3 separate regions of the Homo sapiens genome follow, and all the other regions are linked to region 3. The links are contacts of gene promoters, found by promoter capture Hi-C in blood cells and fetal thymus (Javierre and others, 2016). All regions are on one chromosome and are shown on one strand. Each heading gives the region's core, a stretch centred on a gene start or on the middle of the fragment in contact. The rest is flanking DNA. Distances are from core to core; before and after follow the strand shown. Region 1 has its middle 160 kb from the start of TFPI. Region 2 has its middle 140 kb from the start of TFPI. Region 3 holds the start of LINC01090 (long intergenic non-protein coding RNA 1090).

Region 1 (4,250 bases), core at 1,668-4,167, 570 kb after region 3:
CAAATATGGACTCATCTATTCCCTCTGTTCTGAGATTTTTCTCAGTCATCTGGTTTCACTGAATAACAGTGATGCAGAACAGATGAGTCTACAAATTAGGGCTTAGCCTAGGAGGGTTCTTGGCTTCACCCAAGAAAGAACTCAAGGATGAGCCAGTGGTGTTAGACAGAAATATTTTTACTAAACAGTACTGCTCCTTGCAAAGCTATGTAAATTGAGGGGCAAGTTATTTAAAACTTTCTAAGAAAGGGGTGGCAATTGTAAACTGCCATGACACTGGTGGGAATGCCTTATACTAATGAGCAATGAGGGAAACTAGGGATCACTTTTATGGCCATCTGCTGGTTCTTGCCAGTTTCTTCACTTTAACCTGTCTAGACCAGATCCTGTTTTGGTCAGCAGGGTTGTGACCAGAAAATAAATCCTTTCAGTCTCCGAATCTCAGCAATACTATCTTTACCCTCACCTAGGATTAAAACCAGTAACTGGAATTATTTTTTGATCTTCTATAGCCAATGCCTTGTCAGGCCCTGTTATCCTCATTTCCATTTTCACTGAATTTGCTCTGGTCACATCTTCATCACCACCCTACCTCAGTTTTTCTTATGCTAGTCCACTCTTGCTCAGGATTTTCCTAAAACATTTTTTTTCCTGTAAAACTGCTGCTTAGAAACTTGTGATATGTTTCTACCCCCTAACAGAAGTAAATTAAAGGCCTTCCATGACCTGACCCAATCTATCTTTTATCTTTCTGGTTCCCAGTGCCCTAGGTTAACCTCCATATAAGTCAGGGTTCTCCAGAGAAACAGAATCAACAAGATATAGATATAAGTATAGATATATAGATGTAATAAATACATATTTATTATAAAGAATTGGCTCATATGATTATAGAGCCTGAGAAATTTTAAGACCTGCAGTAGGCAAGCTGGAGACCAAGGAAAGCCAATGGTGTAGTTCCAGCATGAGTCCAAAGGTCTGAGAACAAAAAGAGCTGATGGTGTCTGTTCCAGTCCAGAGGTCAGCAGTCTTGAAACCTAAGAAAAGCTGATTTTTTTTTTTTTAGTTCAGATTTGAAGGGAGGAAAAGACCAATGTTCTATCTCAAGGCAGTCAGGTAGGAGGAGTTCTCTCTTACTTAGTTATTTTGGTTGATAAAAGTCGTTAATTTATTGGATGTGATCCATCCACATTGGAGAGGGCAATCTATTTTACTCAGTCTACAGATTCAAATGTAAACTTCTGCTAGAAACACCCCATATAGACACATCTAGAATAATATTTGGCCAAAGTTGGGCACCCGTGGTCCAATCAAGTTGACACATAAAATTAAGCATCATATATTTCTTCCCTAAAAGTTCTAATATATTATGAAATTTACTTACATAATGTATGTTTGGATTATCCACTTTACCAGAACATGAGTTCCACAAAAACAGGGCTTTTGGTCTTCTTTGATCATTCTTTTATACCCAACATTTAGAAAAGTTCTCCACACAAAGTATATTGCTCCACAAATTGCTGCTGGATAAATATTGTTATATCAATATTTTGTATTAACATTATGACTTCTTATACTGTAAAGCTACACCTTCCCAAATGTTGGTTTTGGACACACGTATTGCTCTTAAATGACTGGGAAGTGTGATTATGGTGGAAACAGAAGAAAGAAGACTTGCTTTGTTTTGTAGTCTAGGAGGGTTTCATAAAGAAGATGAGACAAGTTGTGCCCTGAAGGATTAGTTGGAATTGTGGTGACTTCAGAAGAAGATGGAATACGTTACAGGAAAAAGAAACGACTTAAAAAAATGGGAAGAGGGAAAAAGTGCAAACATATAAAAAGAGGAAGAGAGTTGATCAAATTGGAACCAATTAGAATTTTTATAAAAGGTTTGGGAAGGAAGGAAAGCAGTAACAGTTTTGTCTTAATGATGTTTGAGGAGAAAATGTCTGAAGTTATGGTTTTAGAGTTGAAGTTGTATTTTAAAGTCATAAATGCTGTGTCCAGGGTTTTTACATTATCTTGTGATGAAAGGGAAGTCATCAAAAGTCCTCAAAGAAGATAACAGCATGACATATGTAAAATGTAAGAAAATTAATCTCACCATGTTAGATAGCTCATAATGATAAAGAGATTATGCAAAGAAAATAAATAGATGACTGATATTTTATTCACTGTAATTTTAGTTCTTCCACTAAGAAAAAGCAAAATCAATTATTTTTCAAATAAAAGGGCATTTGTTACCAAAGAAATATATTTATTTTTGAGGAGATCAACATACTGGAGACTAACAAAGTTTGGGAGTCTCGGGAAGCACCACCTCCCATATGTCTTCATGTCACTCTTGTTTAACTGTTCAGGGCCCAGAACAGGATCTCTAGACTGAAGCTGAGAATAGGCACTGAGAAGCTCTTTGTTAAATGACATACAGATTTATACTTTCTGACAACTACGATGCTATTTTTTTCTTAGATCATTATTGAAGATCCCTGCAAATAAAATATAAGTCAAAAAGTGGAAGTAATCCATCCTTAAAGTGGATGGATCAGACCTGTGAAATCAGTTTTTCTTCTAGAAAATAAATAATGAGCAGTGAATTAGTACTGGCTGTACTTTAAGCTGCAGCGATGTCTGCTGTTCCAGTACAAATAGTATTACTTTGTTATTAAAATCAAAGCCATTTCCTTGGTTCTAAAGACAACTTCTCCATCAGCACACTCCATTACTCTGAAAAGTACTGGGTGAACAATGCATTTATAATCGTTTAAAATAGCAGTGTTAAGCTTGTGTGATTGTGTGTATGTGTGCGTGTGCTAAACATACTACTTCAACAAAAAAGGGATTAGGATTAAAAGCAGGGTGAAATCAGAGAAAATGGGAAGGAAGAGAAAACTCAAAAGTTGTATTATGAAAACAAACTTTGAGTGTGATTTTGTCAAAACAAGTTGATTGACAACTCTTTCCATTCTATCCAAATACAGAATGAGAAGACTTCTCTCAAAAGAAAGTCTAGAATTCTATGGTTGTGAAAAGTTGTGACTGGAAAGCTTGGCAAATAAGTCTGCTGCGGTAAGTATAATTAAAAATGCAAAGCCAGTCACCTTTATGTATTGGCTTAGAATTCAAGTAAAAACTGGAATTTCAATATACTTTATACGATAAGAGGTGATATTTTTTCTTTCTGAAAAATAATTTTAATGTATCTTCAATTTGTCAATGTCTTACTTGAACTGCACTAAAGGGACCATAATTATAAGTCATATATTAAAGGAAACACAAGATTTAGCATAAAGATGAAATATAATTTTGTAAATTAAGCAATTTTTGTTCCATGATGCTTTCACTTTGTCTTATGTTGTAGAAACCATTATTATATTAAAACTTTTGATTCACAATCATGAAATCTAACTGAAAAGTATTTCTCATATCCAAATGCAAAATGTATACCTAAGATAACTGACTAATTTGAAGCTTGATGTTCTCAATTTTCAAGGCGATTTGTTGAAAATATACTCTGTTATTTGATTAAATAATAGTTTCAGTATTAGCTGCTCTCATTTTTTAAAACTAAATAATGTAGTTTGTAGCAATAAAAAACATGTTTTCTTTTATCTTTTTTTAGAGACAAAGTCTTGCTCACCCAGGCTGGAGTGCAGTGGCATGATCATAGTTCACTGCAGCCTTGATCTCCTGGGCTCAAGTGATTCTCCCATCTCAGCCTCCCGGTAGTTAGGACTATAGGCATAAACCACCATGCCCAGCTAAGTAAAAACAAACAAACAAAAAAACAAAACAACAACAACAACAACAACAAAAACCTTTTTGTAGAGATTGGTCTCAATATATTGCCCAGGCTAGTCTCCAAAGATCCTCAAGCAATATTGCCACCTTGGCCTTCTGAAGTGCTGGAATTACAGGCATGAACCACCTTACCCAGCCACAATGAAACATTAGTTGCAAAGGTATGTTATAATGTTGAATAAATAATTCACCATTAGTACAAAATAGTATGATACTCAGGTTATGTTCAAAAAATGTCCTAGCATGTGAACAGTTGTAATAAATTACTGATTTCTTGAACTGCAAGGACTATAATATCTTCTTAGAAATGTATTCTGGGTTAAAAAATAATAATCTGCATAATATCTGAAACCTATAGTATCTTTGGCAAAGAGAGAGGCAACTGATTTTTTTTTATTTGATGATGGTTTTATTTTCAAAGCTATAATTAAATGAGATAAAAATATACA
Region 2 (3,858 bases), core at 373-2,872, 600 kb after region 3:
ATTTAATTATCACAGTATCAAATTATCACAGATACAATGGGTATCAAAGTATCACATTGTACCCAATTTTCATTTGTCAATTAAAAGTAAACAAAATTTTTGAATAATCTGTTTCAAATTGTCCTATATTATAAACCTGTTTGGTGACATATAACTATGACACTTGTAGCATGTTGCACACAGGATTTTTCTGGGGGTAAAATGAAAGTGCTTGTTAAATAAAGTATAAGATATAATATCTATTAACATTTTTGAAATTGAATGTTTAGTAAATATGAGTTGGTTGAAAGTTATATATGCCAAACTCAAATTTTCAAGGAAATAAGTGTTCTTGGATAAAAATGTGTTAAATGCTATTTTTGACAATTTATATATATTTCAAATTTTAAAGCTATTATTCAGACAGCATGGATGTAGGAAAATTGTGTATGTGTATATTCTTCTATCTGCTCCTACATATGTATGTGTTTACATATATATAACATTTAATACATAACATATATCATATGGAATGAGTTTCATTTCATACATAACATATTCATATACATATATAGATTACTAGTTATCAAAATATTATTGCAATCATATTTTTGGTAGCACACTGTTACATCTAATTTACACATATTTATCAGAATTTTCATTTGTTCTTTCCAAGAATGTAAGGGTATATAAGGTAGTTTTTCCCATTTTGCACATGAGGAATTCAAGGCTTAGAAAAGTTTGAAACTTGCTAATGGTCACAGCCATTATTAAAATTCAAATTGATCTGGTGACAAATATGTATTTTTTCCACCATATTCTGCTATTTTGACTTTTTAAAATGTTAAAGCTTACAATTTATTTTCAGTTAATTATGTTTCCTATTTTCTTAATATATTATACTAGCGGCATATTCATTCTAATCTATAAAAGTAGAGATAAAACATTTAGTGATTTTATCTGGATAGGTTAGTAAATTAACTTATGGTAATTAACAACTGTCTTGGTCTTTTTGCTATATGTACAAACATTTTCTAAATTATATAGGTTGGAGATACACACATATAAAACCCATATACAAATCTTATAAGAAAAGACATAAATAATAATGAGCCATGATATAGAATATAGGAATATAAAGTCAGTAAGCTTGGCTGTTGTGTGATGTTGCTAAAAGTTTCATCCTTGAAATAGGATTAATATACCTTTTTTTAATCAATAGTTTTGAAAATGTAAGAGTATCACATATTCAAAAACATTTTGTAATTTGTATAAATCTCAATGTTAGCATAAAATTATTCTAAAATTAAATTTTGAGTTTTGAATAGTGTGGATTATGCTATAATGATTATAAATATAACTATTCTTACATAGAAATACATATGCTATAAATAAAACAATAAATTACTGTTATTATATAGATATCATTTATACAATAATTATTACAAACCTTTACATTTTACCTTGATAATCTGAACATTGATCATCTACTACAAACTATTCTTAAGATAATGTATAATTGTTGCAATCAGAGCTGAACACAATTTGCATTAAAGTTTGTTCTTTCCATTACTGTACTATAATGTCAGTGAAAAAAACTCATTTCCTTTTGTATTAGAAACACATTTGGAAGGATTTTAACGATAAATATGCTTCATTTGTTTCTTAGCTAGAATAAATCTCTCTTGAGAACGGAATTTTTAAATTAAATTAATGCATTTGAAAATGTTTCTAAACTTTTATAAATCATTAAAGTCTTCATAGTTTATTATTGTTTCATGCTACAGAACAAATTTGAATTTAGAGAAGTCTTTTGATACATCAGAATCCAAAGTCAAAATCTGAAACATTATACATATTTATGTATAATTTATATAATTTGAGTAATTACATGCATAGAACATTTATATATGTTTATAATGCATTTTCCCTAACATAATCTCTCTTGGTACTTTCAACTATACATAAAAATTTCAGGGCAATTATTTTCTCTATTTCGAAAGCAAAAGATGTTCACTCTCAAGTACTTTGCCTGAGGTTATACAATGATCCTGTATATGACCTAGGGTTAGAATCTGGATCACCTAAATCCCTCTGATGGAAGTAAGATATTTCTTTCAGTGCTAAAGAAGCTTATAATAGTCTCGTTAGATTTTCTATAATCTCTCTATAAGTGGCATCAAATAGAAATTTCAAGTATTTTAGGTACAAGCTTTTCAACAACGTTGTTGCCAAGCTAACATACACAAAATGAAAGTCCATTTATTATGATGCCCCACTGACAATATTCAAATGATAGTAATCATTGAATGCAATACAAATTTTATTTCTATACAATCTAAACTGAAGTGATTTAACATAATATTTATCCAATCAACTAATATTTATTGAGTGTTCAATATGAGCCATACACTGTTCTAAGTACTTAGAATTCATCAGTTAACAAAACAGGCACATATTCTAGCTTGTAGGAAATTAGGATGTTAGCTAGGAGTGACTGGCTTTAAACTATAAGCATGATAGATAAAAGTATGTTGGGTGTTAATAAGTGTTACTAGAAAAAATACAGTAAATAAAGCAGGGACCATAAAAGGTGACAAACATATGATGGAGGGAGGGGTGTTCATTAACAATTTTGCATAGTATGGTAAGGGTAAGGCTCAATGAGCAGGTGATCTTGAACAATGAGTTCATATGGTGGTGCCTGGTGTTTTGGTATATTTTAAGGAGGCAAAAGCAAAGGACTAGAGAAGACGGGGCAATAGAGGAGCAATAAAAGATGAGACAGAAAAGGAAGCAAGAGACCAACTCATGACAGCCTAACACGGCCTCAACGTTTGTAGTAAATCAAACAGGAAGTCCCTGGAAGATTTTAAAGCAGAGGGATAAATTGCCTAATATACATTTTATCAGATTCAGCAATGAATGTTGTGTTGATCATACAAAGTAGATAGGCAACTTGGGAAGCAGGGGGACCAGTTAGGAAGATAGTGAACTAAGTGAAGTAAGGGACGGTAGTGGCGTAAACAAAGCGGAAGTCGTAAAAGAGGGGTCCAATCCAATTTTAGGTATATCAGAACCAATTTTAGGTATATTGGGAGAAAAATGCAATGTCATGACAGATTGGATGTGGAATATTAGGGAAGAAGTCAAGGATGATGGTGATGGCCGGGTGTGGTGACTGACGCTTGTAATCCCCACAGTTTGGGATGCCGATGCGGGCGGATCACCTGAGATCAGGAGTTCGAGACCAGCCTGGCCAACATGGTGAAACCCCATCTCTACTAAAGTTACAAAACTTAGCCAGGCACACTCCTGTAATCCCAGCTATTCAGGAGGCTGAGGCAGGAGAATTGTTTGAACTCGGGAGGTGGAAGTTGCAGTGAGCTGAGATACCATGCCACTGCACTCCAGCCTGGGCAACTGTAGCCAGACTGCGTCAAGAAAAAAAAAAAAAAAAAAAAAGACAAAAGAATGATGGTGAGGTTTTCGTCCTGAGTAACCTGTGGAATGGATTGCCATCAATGAGATGGGGCCGGCTCTGGGTAGGAACAGATTCAGTGTAGGGAGGTATCAGGCTTATTTGGTTTGAGATATAGTATGTTCCATTTGCCTATCAGTTTTATCAAATATGCAATTGGATATATAAGACTGGAGCTACAGGAAATGGTCTGGACTGAAAATGTGGGAATAATTGCTATTAGAGATAGTATACAATATTATAAGATTGAGTAAGACCAGCAAAACAGAGAGTGTAGTTAGAGAACAGAAAAGGGCCAATGACAGGCCTGGATCACTCCAATGTTGTGTGCTGAGAGAAGAGAAAGAATCAGGGGAAAAAAAAATCCCAGTGAACTAGTGTAGTATAATGAAAAGCAA
Region 3 (4,044 bases), core at 767-3,266:
TAAGACTTGGAAGATCCTAAAGAGGGAAAAAAAAATATGGCTACAAAGCACATCCATCATGAATGGATAAATGAAGATAGATGAGTCCTCATAACTGTCTTTTTCCAATCGTTACATACAGTGCTAAAGATTACTCACTTTTATATTTTCTCCCACTGTTTAAAGTCTTTAAACTTGCTATTGCTTTGTAATTTTTATAACCTGACTTTTGATATGATCTTCTTTGTGAAATGGCTTAGAGGTATAAAAATCTCAAGAGTGTCAGAACCAAGTTTTTAAAAACAATAGAACCAAATGGAACAAGATTTTAAAACAAATTTATAGCATGCCCCAGGAAGTGAAGAAGGGAGATGCCAAAGAAAAGGGTTGCAGAAGCCTAGCAGGGCACTACGATGACAAATACGCCTAATTTTACCTACTGCAAATACCTCAGATTTCCATTTGAAAGTTCTTCACATTCATCATAGGTTCATATAGACCCTGATAGAAACTCAGCAGCTTTCCAGTAATTTTTATTTTTATTTATTTATTTATTTTTTTTTTTTGAGGCGGAGTCTTGCTTTGTCGCCCAGGCTGGAGTGCAGTGGTGCGATCTTGGCTCACTGCAAGCTCCGCCTCCGTGTTCACACCGTTCTCCTTCCTCAGCCGCCCGAGTAGCTGGGACTACAGGCGGCCGCCACCATGCCCGGCTATTTTTTTTTTTTTTTTTTTTTTTTTTTGTATTTTTAGTAGAGACAAGATTTCACTCTGCTAGCCAGGATGGTCTCAATCTCCTGACCTCGTGATCCACCCGCCTCGGCCTGCCAAAGTGCTGGGATTACAGGTGTGAGCCACCACGCCTGGCCTCCAGTATTTTTAAATTAATTTTCTTGCTCAAACCAGAATTAAGTTTCTCTTACCCTAACTAAGGGAACTTTGGCTAAGACAAAAAAACGACCTGTTACTTACCTTAAGAAAACCAATTTTATTTCTGATTATTGCAAAAGCACACAAAAAATATGCTGGTTGTTTAGCCCTATATTTCTGCAAAACCAACATTTAAAGTATTTGACAACTTTTTAAAAACTGTAATGAAAACCAAGACTGAAATTCAAATTTCAGTCATGTGATTTGAAAGGGGGTCATGTTTCTGTTTGTCATGTGTAACAGTGGCCAAATATCCTATGAGTTCCTAGGGGCTCTGGGTTCCAAAGTTACTGTGTTACATTTACCTTCAAACCTCTATCATTTTATCTGTCATTCTGAAAGAATCGCTTTATTTTGATCTTCTTGATTAAGAACATGAAACATGACCATTGCAAAAAAAGAAAAAAAAATAGGAGGGCAACTGCAAAAGGGAAATAAATATCACCTGTATTCCCATCACCAAAAGTACCTATTGCTCACATTTTCTCTATATGCTCCAAGGTTTGTTGAGGCCTCTGAGAGACCCGGATAAATAGTATCCCTTCTTTATGCCTGGGTGGGGAATAAATTGACCAAAAAAATGAGAGCAAAATATTACTCTATGATTGACAGATAACGGATTTGAATTGGTAGATCCAAAAGCAAAGAACTGAAACAGCAGCCTCAGTCAACGTAGTTCCTGGCCTCCTTCTAACCTGAAAGGAGACAGTGCCTTTGAAAAAGGATTTAAATTGTTTTTTGAGTTCTATTCCAAAGAATGAAAGAGAGAGAAAGGTAGTTGAGCCTGGCATGCCCAGCAATTCTTCCCAAGTTTATTCCTAAGTTTATCTACCAAATGTCATAACATCTCTCCAAGGGCAAGTAAGTAAAGACCCAGTAAAATATTTTTGCATGGAAACCAGGAGTAGAGGAAAGGCATTACCCAGCACCCACAGACACTTAACAATTTTCTTTCCATTTTTTTCATGTGGAAGTATAACGTACATACTACTCCTTTTTTTTTTTTTTTTTTTTTTTTTTTTGAGACGGAGTCTCCCTCTGTCGCCCAGGCTGGAGTGCAGTGGCGCGATCTCGGCTCACGGCAAGCTCCGCCTCCCGGGTTCACGCCATTTTCCTGCCTCAGCCTCCTGAGTAGCTGGAACTACAGGCGCCGCGCCACCACTCCCGGCTAATTTTTTTATTTTATTTTATTTTTTATTTTTAGTAGAGACGGGGTTTCACCGTAGCCAGAATGGTCTTGATCTCCTGACCTCGTCATCCGCCCGCCTCGGCCTCCCAAAGTGCTGGGCTTACAGGCGTGAGACACTGCGCCCGGCCCATACTACTACTTTTTTGTAAGTATTCTTTCAAAATATTTATTTTCATATGCATTTTTCGTTTACCTAAATGACATCATGTAAACTATTCCATCTTGGCCCTTAATTTTTTTTCTCCAAACACTTAAATTTTCAAATAATCTTAGTGAAAAATTAGCAGCTCAATCGCTTTAATTTTTATTACTTTCACTGTTAATAAAACTGAATAAGTTTTCATAAAGTTAATAACCGTTTATATTTTCTTTTGTGAGGTGGCTATTTATATATTCTGTACATTTTTCTCTTTTCTCTATTGTTTCATATATTTTTTCTTTTTCTTATTGATTTTTAAAGGTTCTGTATGAGGTAAATATATTAACCTCTAGCCAAAAAACGGGTATTTGTCTTATTAACTTAATTAAAATAATTAAATTATTTTGTTCTATTTTAAAACTATGTAGAATTTCTTTAAATGTAATCGGTTTATGATTTCTTGAGTTTTTAAAAAATATAATGACATTTCACCCAAACTAATTAGCAATATTTTCTTCTAGTATTTTGTAGTTTTCGTTTTTCAATTTATTCTGATGTGAAATCTAAAGATAGGGCTTTTGTTTCCCCCAGAATAATGACCTAGGTGTCCAACACCACATATTGAATAGATCCATTCTTTGTCCAGTGATTTTAGCAGTAATTTTTATCATATGTTAACTTAGATATAAAACAGGGTCTGTTCAATCAGAACTTCCAGGTGTGGTCAAACAGCATGCAAAATGCAGTAAGACACCTAAAAAAGGTCCAGTGCAGAATAAAATCCAGCCAAGCTCTTTTGCCAGCCAAGCCAATGGAGCTTGCGAGCAAGAAGAAAGGGATATCTTTTCTAACTACAAAGGCATCTTCGGCTCCTAGCCAAGCACCTGCAGAGCTTCCTTGGAAAGAATTGGGCATCATGTGGGCTAGCGGTAGTCCTTTCCCATTTAATAGTCAGTGTATTTCTGCAATAGAACATTATTAATTATCTCAAACTATCATTGTTTAAAATATCTACTGGGGCAAATTCTCCTTTATTATTTTCTCCCCCTTTCAAAGGTTTCATCACTATTCTCTCAAAGTTATTTTTCCAAATGAACTTTGGATCCATTCTGTTAAGTTTCCTTGTCACAACTTCCTATTTCCTACCTTTGCCCACAAAAGTCTTCTGTTAGAAGTGTGTTCAACTCATGTATCAATTTACTTGAATTCACTTCATTATTCAATTTTTTCTTCTGATCCTGAAAAAGGATGCTTTTTCAACTTGAAAAGACCTGACTCTGCACCCATTCAAATTATATTTTTACTCTCCAATCTATTAAATTACCACTTGTTAAGTTCCATGTTGTTGCTAAGAGTGAAAGGGCCATTTTTCTACAACAATTGCAGGACATAAATAATACTTGGAATAGAAGAGCCCTACTTAACACGAGTAATGAGAGAAAGCACAGATCTTAATCAAGGGTCACATTTCTGCTTCTTGTTCCAGTTCATGTGCACTCTAGATGATAGTGAATGAATACCTTATATGGAGTCCAGCCATGACCAAAAGACAGGAGCTAACACTCAGCTTCATGGAAAGGCCCAATCTAATGTCCAGGAATAGACTCCTGAGGTATGGTCTTCTGCCACAGAGCTTTCAGGCCTAGAAAATTTGCTTGAAGCAGTTTTACTTGCTTGAAAAACTGCTGCGATAAGAAGATATTTTTTTCATTTGAAGTCTCACATACTTAAAATACAAAAATAGAACAAAGACATTGCATTGCAAATAGAATTACAGTCTTATTTTCTTAATAGAGTAAAAAATAAATTG

Evidence for each region. The method cuts DNA at HindIII sites, captures the fragments that hold promoters and counts their contacts. A CHiCAGO score of 5 or more calls a contact.
Region 1: a contact is called between a fragment that was not itself captured here and the fragment with the promoter of LINC01090 in region 3, in 1 of 17 cell types (M1 macrophages). The highest score is 5.5, in M1 macrophages.
Region 2: a fragment that was not itself captured here is called in contact with the fragment with the promoter of LINC01090 in region 3 in 1 of 17 cell types (M0 macrophages); the score reaches 5.6 in M0 macrophages.

The regions. Positions count from the first base shown.
Region 1 is chr2:187,711,611-187,715,860 of GRCh38, reverse strand. No RefSeq gene overlaps it. Among named protein-coding and RNA genes, the nearest start is that of TFPI, 160 kb to the right of the region's middle. The HindIII fragment of the contact is 264 bases long and covers 2,786-3,049 here.
Region 2 is chr2:187,690,196-187,694,053 of GRCh38, reverse strand. No RefSeq gene overlaps it. Among named protein-coding and RNA genes, the nearest start is that of TFPI, 140 kb to the right of the region's middle. The HindIII fragment of the contact is 983 bases long and covers 1,131-2,113 here.
Region 3 is chr2:188,285,663-188,289,706 of GRCh38, reverse strand. It overlaps LINC01090 (long intergenic non-protein coding RNA 1090), which reads left to right and starts at 2,016. Exons shown (of 3, transcript NR_126396.1): 1 at 2,016-2,240. The HindIII fragment of the contact is 11,348 bases long and covers 1-4,044 here.